Linked DNA regions of Homo sapiens: regions 1 and 2 are each linked to region 3. The links are contacts of gene promoters, found by promoter capture Hi-C in human tissues and cell types (Jung and others, 2019). All regions are on one chromosome and are shown on one strand. Each heading gives the region's core, a stretch centred on a gene start or on the middle of the fragment in contact. The rest is flanking DNA. Distances are from core to core; before and after follow the strand shown. Region 1 overlaps DSCAM (DS cell adhesion molecule). Region 2 has its middle 50 kb from the start of DSCAM. Region 3 holds the start of DSCAM (DS cell adhesion molecule).

Region 1 (2,700 bases), core at 188-2,687, 43 kb after region 3:
GCGTAATTCCCAGAACCTGGAAGGGGAAGGAAACTTTGGTTGACCAATGGAACAAGCTAAGTAGGTTCATTGGGGAGTGAGCCAAGGGAATGAGTTACTGAGTTTACTCTTCTACTGCCTTCCAGTCTCCTGTCTGGACTCCTGTGGCCCTGAACACACCAAAAGTCAGAGGGCATGGAATCTCACTGATGTCATGATTACTGGTCAGCCTCATGAGCCAGAAGGCAGGATGGAGGGGGAATGAACAAACAGAAGGAACCCTCACAAAACAGAGAGGGGGAAAGAGAGATAGACATACAAGAGAGAGCTAGGAAAGTTGGCAGTGGCCAGATTTTAAGAGATACTTGGCTCATATTAAGATTAAGGTTTACTTGGAAGTCACTGGGCAGTCATCTGTGTGATCAGATTATTATAAGAAGAGAAGTAGCAGACTGGAGGGTGGATTTGAGAGGAGCAAGGGTGGATTCTAGAAGGCCATTTGGGAGGTCATGACAGCTCCCTAGGAGTTGGGGGGAAGTGAGCTAATTCAAGAATATTAGAAGAGTCTCGTTCAGACAGCTGAGTGGACGTGCCTTTCACTGATTTAGGAAACATTAGCATTAGACCAATTATGGGGGTGGGGAAGGAGAAAGCTTAAGTGCAGGTGTGATCATGGTCAGCTTGAAACACCTCTGAATACAATTGGGTGGGGTACAATGTAGCAGCGGGAAGTTAAGTCTGGAGCTCAGTAGATAGTCCTAGATGGAGGGGAATGTTGACTTATAGATGGGAATTTAGCAATGGATATAGTAGAGGTCTCTAAAGAGCACAGGTAGCATGAACAGATACAGAAGGCCTAGGACAGAATCCATAAAAATGTCAACATTTCAGGATTGTGCAGAGACAGATGACTGAGTAAAGAAGACTGAGAAGGAACAGATAAGTAGTCGAAAACCAAGTGGGCAGGGCAGGAGGCAGGTTAGGGTGAGTTGCAAAGTGGCTGAGAAATGAGAAAATGAAACCGTGGGGGCTCTCATCTTCTCCAGGAAGGTGTGCTGGGAACGGGGAGGGGAGATAGGGGCTAGCAGGCAGAGGGTGGTAGGAGCAGAGAGAGCCCTGCTGGGAAAGGAGGACTTGAGCCTACCTAAATGATGACCAGAGTCAGTGGAGAGGCAATGGCAATGGAAAGAACAAGGGTCCAGGAGGAACAGGATAATCATCAGGGAAAGGTTGGAATGCGGAAGGCAACCAAAGCATCCTGCAGAGCGTGCATTTTGAATTTCTGTGATCCTCTGGAAAAACAACCTTCTGTGCTTCAATTTAAAGGAAGGTGCATGGACTCTGTGCTCCCCTGATTCTGAACCACACTCCATCAGCAAGGCCACATCCACATTCAGAGCTCCAGGAAGCCTCCCCTATCCCTGTGGACAGGACTTGGGGAGTGGCCTTGTACTGCACAGGTCACTGTCTCCATTCTAACCTAAGTGAGGGAAGAGTGGATTGGTCCCTGGAGTGTTTACAGACTTGGTGCTGATGGAGGGGTGGTTTAAAGGATTTTTAGCTATTTCCCCCCTTTCTTTATTAAGCAGAAGAGAAGACTGGGTCCTGAGAGTAAAGAGTCTGAGGCTTGAGTAGGTTAGAGAAGGAGAAATGGTCATTTTGTAGAGCAGGAGAGGGGATGCTCCTTAGAGACACTGAAGGACCATTTAGGCTGGTGACGGCAAATTTATTGTGACACAAATCTTCCCAGCTGTGGGATTTTCCCCAACAACACTCAACGGTCCAGACACAGGTATAAAGGTGTTTTTTTTTTCCCCATTCTTCCCTTCCTCTTTTCCTTCCTGTCTGATCTATCCAAGTTGGAGTTCATTACCCACAGATTCTATACATAAATGCCAGTATATTCTATATATACTAAAGTCTGTAGATTCTAGTAATTCCTAACTCACCAACCAACTACAAGGTTTAACAATAATAGAATCACACATATGTCACCTTTCTAAATCATTAACCTGAGAGACGAAAGAGAAGGGGGAGTCTGGGGGCCCGAGATCAGTGACTAGAGGGTGTTGCAGCACTAAAACATCACACGATTGATCAGACCTATCATGGCTCTTTCACTTTCATGAACATTTTGTGTTTTGCTTTAACAGAATTTGAGTCACTCCTATAGGTGGCTTTAGTGGTCCTTCCCTGGGTGTTTTCTCAGACTTGTGGTGGGTAATGGGGTAGCATATGTGTGCTCACGTGACAGAGTGGAGTTCTCATCATTTCACTGCCTTCTTGGCAAACAGAGGCAATGAGAACGTCAAAGGCATCATTTGCATTTGTAAAGCAAAAGCCAGTGATCACATCTGTATCTACCATATGGCAGATGTTCCATAATTATTTTGAAAAACATATGAGATTTCAGCTGTGCAGCACTTATTGGAGACTTGAGGAAAGAAATTTAGGGGCAAGAAATTTAGGAATGAGTATTATTTTCCTCTTAGAAACTGACTTCTCTGACTTACCCTAAATTTAGTACTTCCAAAGAGAATAACAGATTTTCATCATTGTAAAATATCAGCAAAAACAGACCAAAGTGCTGCCATAAGGAAAGGAATTCTGTTAGTGGTACCTTGTCTGTCTAGTTGTGAGGTGTGGTCAGCTGCGTAATGCTGTCACTTCCCCAGGATATCCATGTCTGTATTAGTCTGCTTTCTGTTGCTTGTAACAGAA
Region 2 (2,700 bases), core at 132-2,631, 50 kb before region 3:
TTGTTCTTGAGTGGCAGTATGTTAGGCTGTTCTTGCTTTGCTATAACGGAATACATGAGACTGGCTAATTTATAAAGAAGAGAGGTTTAATTGGTTCATGTTTCTGAAGGCTGTATAGGAAGTATGGCATCAGCATCTGCTCTGCTTCTGGTGAGGCCTCAGGGAGCTTGCAGTCACGGTGGAAGGCAAAGGGGGAGCCAACATATCACACGGTGAGAGTGGGAGCAAAAGAGAGGGAGTAGTTGCCACAGATTTTTAAACAACCAGATCTTCTGAGAACATGCTCACTATCAAGGACAGCACCAAGGGGTTGGCATTAAACCATTCATGAGAAATCTGCCTTCATGAACCCATCACCTTTCACCAGGCCCCACCTCCAACACTGGGGATTCAATTCAACATGAGATTCAGAGGGAACAACCTCTAAACTACATCATTCCACTCCTGGCCCCTCAAATCTCATGTTCTTCTTCCACTGAGAAATATAATCATCCCCAGCCAGTAGTTTCCCAAAAGTCTGAATTCATTTTAGCATCACTCAAAAGTCCAAAGTCCCAAGTCCAAAGTCCCATCTGGAGTTGAGTCCCTACCACCTATGAGTCTGGAAAATCAGAACAAATTACTTGCTTTTAAGATACAATGGGGGTACAGGCATTGGTTAAACATTCACATTCCAAAAGGGATAAATCAGCCAAAAAGACAGGGGCTATTTACATGTACAGCCCCCACACAAGTGCAAAACCAAGCAGGGCAGTCATTAAATCTTCAAGTTCCAAAGCAGTCTCCTTCAACTCCACGTCCTGCATCCAGGGAACACAGGTGCAAGGGTTGGGTTCCCAAAGCCATGGCAGCTCTGCTTCTAGGCTTTGCATGGTTCAGTCCCCACAGCTGCTCTCATAGGCTGCAGTTAAGTGCCTGTGGCTTTTCCAGGGTACAAGCTGCTTATGGATCTACCATTTTGGGGTCTGGGGGAAAGTGACCCCCTCCCTACAGCTCCACTACGCAGTTCCCACACTGGGAACTCTGTGTACGGGCTCACACCCCATATTTCCCTTCATGACTGCCCTAGTAGAGGTTGTCTATGAGGGTTCTGCCCCTGAGATAGGCTTCTTCCTGGGCACTCTGGCTTTCCCATCCATCCTATGAAATGTAGACAGAGGCTGCCAAACATTCTTCACTTTTGCACTCTGTGAACCTACAGGCTTAACACTATGTGGAAGCCACTGAGGCTGATGGCTCTCTCCCTCTAGAGTGGAGGCCCAGGCTGTAACTTGGCCCCTCCAGCTGCAGCTGGAGTGACTGGAATGCGAGAAGCAAAGTCCTATGACTGTGCAGGGGATTGTGGCCCTGGTCCTGGCCCCCCAAAACATTATTTGCTCCTAGAACCCATGGCCTGTGATGGGAGGGGCTGCCTCAGAGATCTCTGAAATGTCTTTGAGACCTTTTCCCCCCTTGTTTTGGCTATCAGCACCTGGCTCCCTTTTAGTTACGCAAATCTCTCTAATAAGTGGTTGTTCTGTAGCTCACTTGGATTCTTCCACTGAAATTGGGCTTTTCTTTTCTACCACATGGCCAGGCTGCAAATTTTCCAAATGTTTCTGATATGCTTCCCCTTTAAATATAACTTCCAACTTTAAGTCATTTCTTTGCTCCTATGTCTAAGAGTAGGTTGTTAGAAGCAGCCAAGACACATCTTGAATGCTTTGTAGCTTAGATTTTTTTTTTCTACCAGTTACCCTAAATCATCACTCTTAAGTTCAAATTTCCACAGATCTCTAGGGCGTGAACACAATGCAACCAATCTCTTTGCTACAGCATAACGTGGATGACTTGTGCTCTAGTTCCCAATAAGTTCCTTATTTCCATCTGAGACCTCAGCAGGCTGAACTTCACTGTTCATATCACTATCAGCATTTTGGTCACAATCATCTAACAAGCCTCTAAGAAGTTCTAAACTTTCCCTCGTCTTCCTGTCTTCCTCTGAGCCCTCCAAAATCTTCTAACCTCTGCCTGTTACCCAGTTCCAAAGTCACTTCCACATTTTCATGTATCTTTACAGTAATATCTCACTCCTGATAACAATTTTCTGTGTTATGTAGTTCTTGCATTGCTATAAAGGAATACCTAAGACTGAGTAATTTATAAAGAAAAGAGGTTTAGCTGGCTTATGGTTTTGCAGGTTGTACAGGAAGCATGATACTGACCATCTGCTCAGCTTCTTGTGAGTCCTCGGGGAGCTTGCAATCATGGAGGAAGATACAGAAGAAGCCAGCACATCACATGGTGAAAGCAAGAGCAAGAGAGAGAGGGAGGAGTTGCCACACACTATTAAACAGCTAGATCTCATGAGAACTCACTATCACAAGAATAGCATCAAGAGGATGATGCTAAATCATTCATGAGAAATCCACCCCTGTGATCCAATCACCCCCAACCAGGCCCCATGTCCAGTACTGGGGATTACAATTCAACATGTGATTTAGAGAGGACACACATGCAAACTACATGAATCAGTGAGTACAACAGCCTCTTTCAGGTCTCTAATGGTTTGGTTGTGTCCCTCCCCAAACCTCATCTTAAATTGTAACTCCCACAATTCCCATGTGTTGTGGGACGAACCCGGTAGGAGATAATTAAATCATGGGTATAGGTCTTTCCCATGCTGTTCTCCTGATAGTGAATAATTCTCATGAGATCTGA
Region 3 (2,700 bases), core at 171-2,670:
ACGGATGGAAAGATCTTCACACCTCTGTGAGTTAAGAACTGTGATAATTTCCAGTCTGCATATGAGGAAATTGAGGCTCGAGTCACATGCAGAAGCCCCACATCGGGGTAGTGGAGGAGCTGCAATTCGACCCTGGGTTTCCCTGACCCCAGTGCCTGGGCACCCTTGCAGGTGGCTAGTGTGCAAGTAAGAATTAATGAATAGGTCAACCAGCCAGATGCAGGGACAGAATCAGGCCCATCCCCTGCCTTCCTGGGTTGCATTTGGGAAGGACCAGGGACTGAGCACCCAGCATTTGCAAAGCCAGAGGATGCTGGTTCTGGTGCGTGGTACTGGGGGCTGGGCCTGCGCAGCCTGAGTGGGCGGCAGCACGTGATCACCTGCAGCTGCAGAGCCGTGGTGAGCCAGGCAGCATCACCGGCTCAGCTGACCCTTCCTGGTACACAGGGCCTGGCCATCTTGTGCCCAACCCTGGTAAAGCACCATTTTGTTTCTGCCTCACCATTTGCTTCTCCTGTGTTTTGTGAGCTGTCTGAGATGTGCATCATTCTTCTGTATTTGGAGGGGGACATGGAGCCCAGTTAGGATACCTAGTGCCTAGGAAAAAGCCTACTCAATTTCCCTTGAAAATGTCTCCCTTGACCCCCACCGAATGCTTTTTTTCAGTCCTGATTGTCCTGACTGTGAGCATTCCATCCTGGCTTCTACACTGGGGTGCATTCCAGCCCTGTCGGTCATTATATTGCAAAGTGATGGATAGATGTACGCCCTTGTGAGAGCTTTAATTTAAATATTATCATGACTTCAAGAATCATACAGAACATTCAGGAAATGTTAACATATTGACTTTTCACAGAAACGTGAAAGGGGCTATATGTTTGGGATTACTCAAATTATCAGCAATTTCAATCAGCTTTTTTATGCGCCATTCAGAGAGCAAAATTAGAAGTGCTTGTGTTTGCATTCTACCATGTATTCAAGATAATTAAAAATTAGCCCGTGAAATCATAGAGATCTTTACAGTAGCAGCAAGGATTTGGAAGGAGCATTTCCCTCTAAGCAAATGAACTGGACTTTTCTGAGAGTAAATACGGAATCGGAATCCAGCTGCACATTTTATTAAAACTACGAGCATTTCATGTTCACCTCTCCGTGGCTGGCCACCTTCCGCAATAGTCACCCCGGCCATCCCTTATTAGCAACCGGCAGGAAAATAACTAAAAATAAGCAGCTGTTGAAATGATTATTTAAGCCTCTAAGAAATTCCTCCTGATGACTGTGCGTGACTGTGCGGTGGCTGCGCTCTCCCCGGTCCTGCCTCAGTTCGGCTGCACGTCTCTGCTGCTGCTTTAAGACTGCAGAGCGCCCCAGCGGCCAGAGGCAGGGGAGGGGTCCCTGCTCGCCTCCGCGCTCGGCTTCACTCGCCCGGCTCGCAGGCAGGGAAGGTTGGCAGAGGGATCCATGTGACTGAGGCCGGAGCACGGCAAAGATGAGCCTGCCCGCCCGCCTGCTGCCTGGATGCGGAGGGTGAGGGCTGGCGCACGGGAGGCCGCTGGCTGCGCATTCTGGGCGCCGAGTGCCCGGGATGAGCTCACGCCCGCGTCTGCGGCTCTCTCCACCTGCCGACCTGCCGGGGGCCCACTGAGCTGACGGCGCACCTGGGCTCCGGCCGCAGCGTGGGGCGCGGCGCCCGGGAGCAGGTGTGCAGGAGCGCAGCGCGCGGCGAGCGCAGCCCTCGCTCCGGAGCCCGGCCGCGCCGCGTGCCCGGGCGGCTAGGCAGCGGCGGCGGCGGCGGCGGGCGGCGGGCGGGCGGCGGCCCCCGGGCAGGTGCCGAGCGGCGAGCGGAGCCGGGCCGGGCGGAGCGCGGGGGGCGAGGCCGGCGCGTCGCTCGCGGGAGGCCGGGGAGCGGCAGGGGCATGTGGATACTGGCTCTCTCCTTGTTCCAGAGCTTCGCGAATGGTGAGCCTTTCGGTTTGTGATGAATTTCGTTTCCTTATCATTGACCGGGGGGGCGGGGGGGTGGGGGGTGGCATTGGATGCATGGGTAAAGTCTTCTTTCTTTTTCCGCTTCATCTGTGTTTAAAATTTCGTGCTTTTATTTATTTTTTAAATATCATATTTATTTTTTGGGGGAGAAGAGGTGGCAATGGAGAGGCCCGGGAGAAATTGCTCTGTAATCATTGGAAGGCGCTTACCTAGCCAAGTGACAGCTCAGAGCCTAACTCCAGTACTAGAGAGCTGCCTCATTCAGAATAAACCAGGTTTGGTGACAGAAGGAGAGACAGGAAGATTGCCACTTTGAATATTACAACCTGGAAAGGGATGTGACATTCCAAGTGCACGCAAGTGGAGGGGTCAATGAGGAACATCTCCCTTCAGATTCAATGCTTTTTGAGATTTTTCAAACACGTAATTTCATGCTAGTACAATGTATCTCCAGCACCAAGGAGGGCTTTAAGAATGTTCTGTCCTTCTATGCACCCCGTGCTGCTTCATGCTCCTCACAGTCGTTTATGTAAAAATATGCACTGATAAGCATTACATCATCTGAAATGTTGACAAATTAAAAAAAAAAAAACACCTGTATAGTTGTAAAAATGAAATCAGTGAATATTGTAAATAGCATACATTTCCTCATGCCCAGCCAATATTATATTTTGAAATGATTTCTTCCTGGGTATTTAGAAAGCTATTGCTCTT

Evidence for each region. The method cuts DNA at HindIII sites, captures the fragments that hold promoters and counts their contacts. A contact is called where the count stands out against the background at its distance.
Region 1: a contact is called between a fragment that was not itself captured here and the fragment with the promoter of DSCAM in region 3, in 6 of the 25 tissues and cell types used here (dorsolateral prefrontal cortex, hippocampus, lymphoblastoid cells and 3 more).
Region 2: a fragment that was not itself captured here is called in contact with the fragment with the promoter of DSCAM in region 3 in 3 of the 25 tissues and cell types used here (IMR-90 fibroblasts, dorsolateral prefrontal cortex and hippocampus).

What each region holds. Positions count from the first base shown.
Region 1 is chr21:40,802,869-40,805,568 of GRCh38, reverse strand. The region is part of intron 1 of DSCAM (DS cell adhesion molecule); the gene reads left to right. Among named protein-coding and RNA genes, the nearest start is that of DSCAM, 43 kb to the left of the region's middle. The HindIII fragment of the contact is 4,192 bases long and covers 1-2,700 here.
Region 2 is chr21:40,895,960-40,898,659 of GRCh38, reverse strand. No RefSeq gene overlaps it. Among named protein-coding and RNA genes, the nearest start is that of DSCAM, 50 kb to the right of the region's middle. The HindIII fragment of the contact is 4,744 bases long and covers 1-2,700 here.
Region 3 is chr21:40,845,878-40,848,577 of GRCh38, reverse strand. It overlaps DSCAM (DS cell adhesion molecule), which reads left to right and starts at 1,420. Exons shown (of 33, transcript NM_001389.5): 1 at 1,420-1,959. The coding sequence starts at 1,917. The HindIII fragment of the contact is 24,098 bases long and covers 1-2,700 here.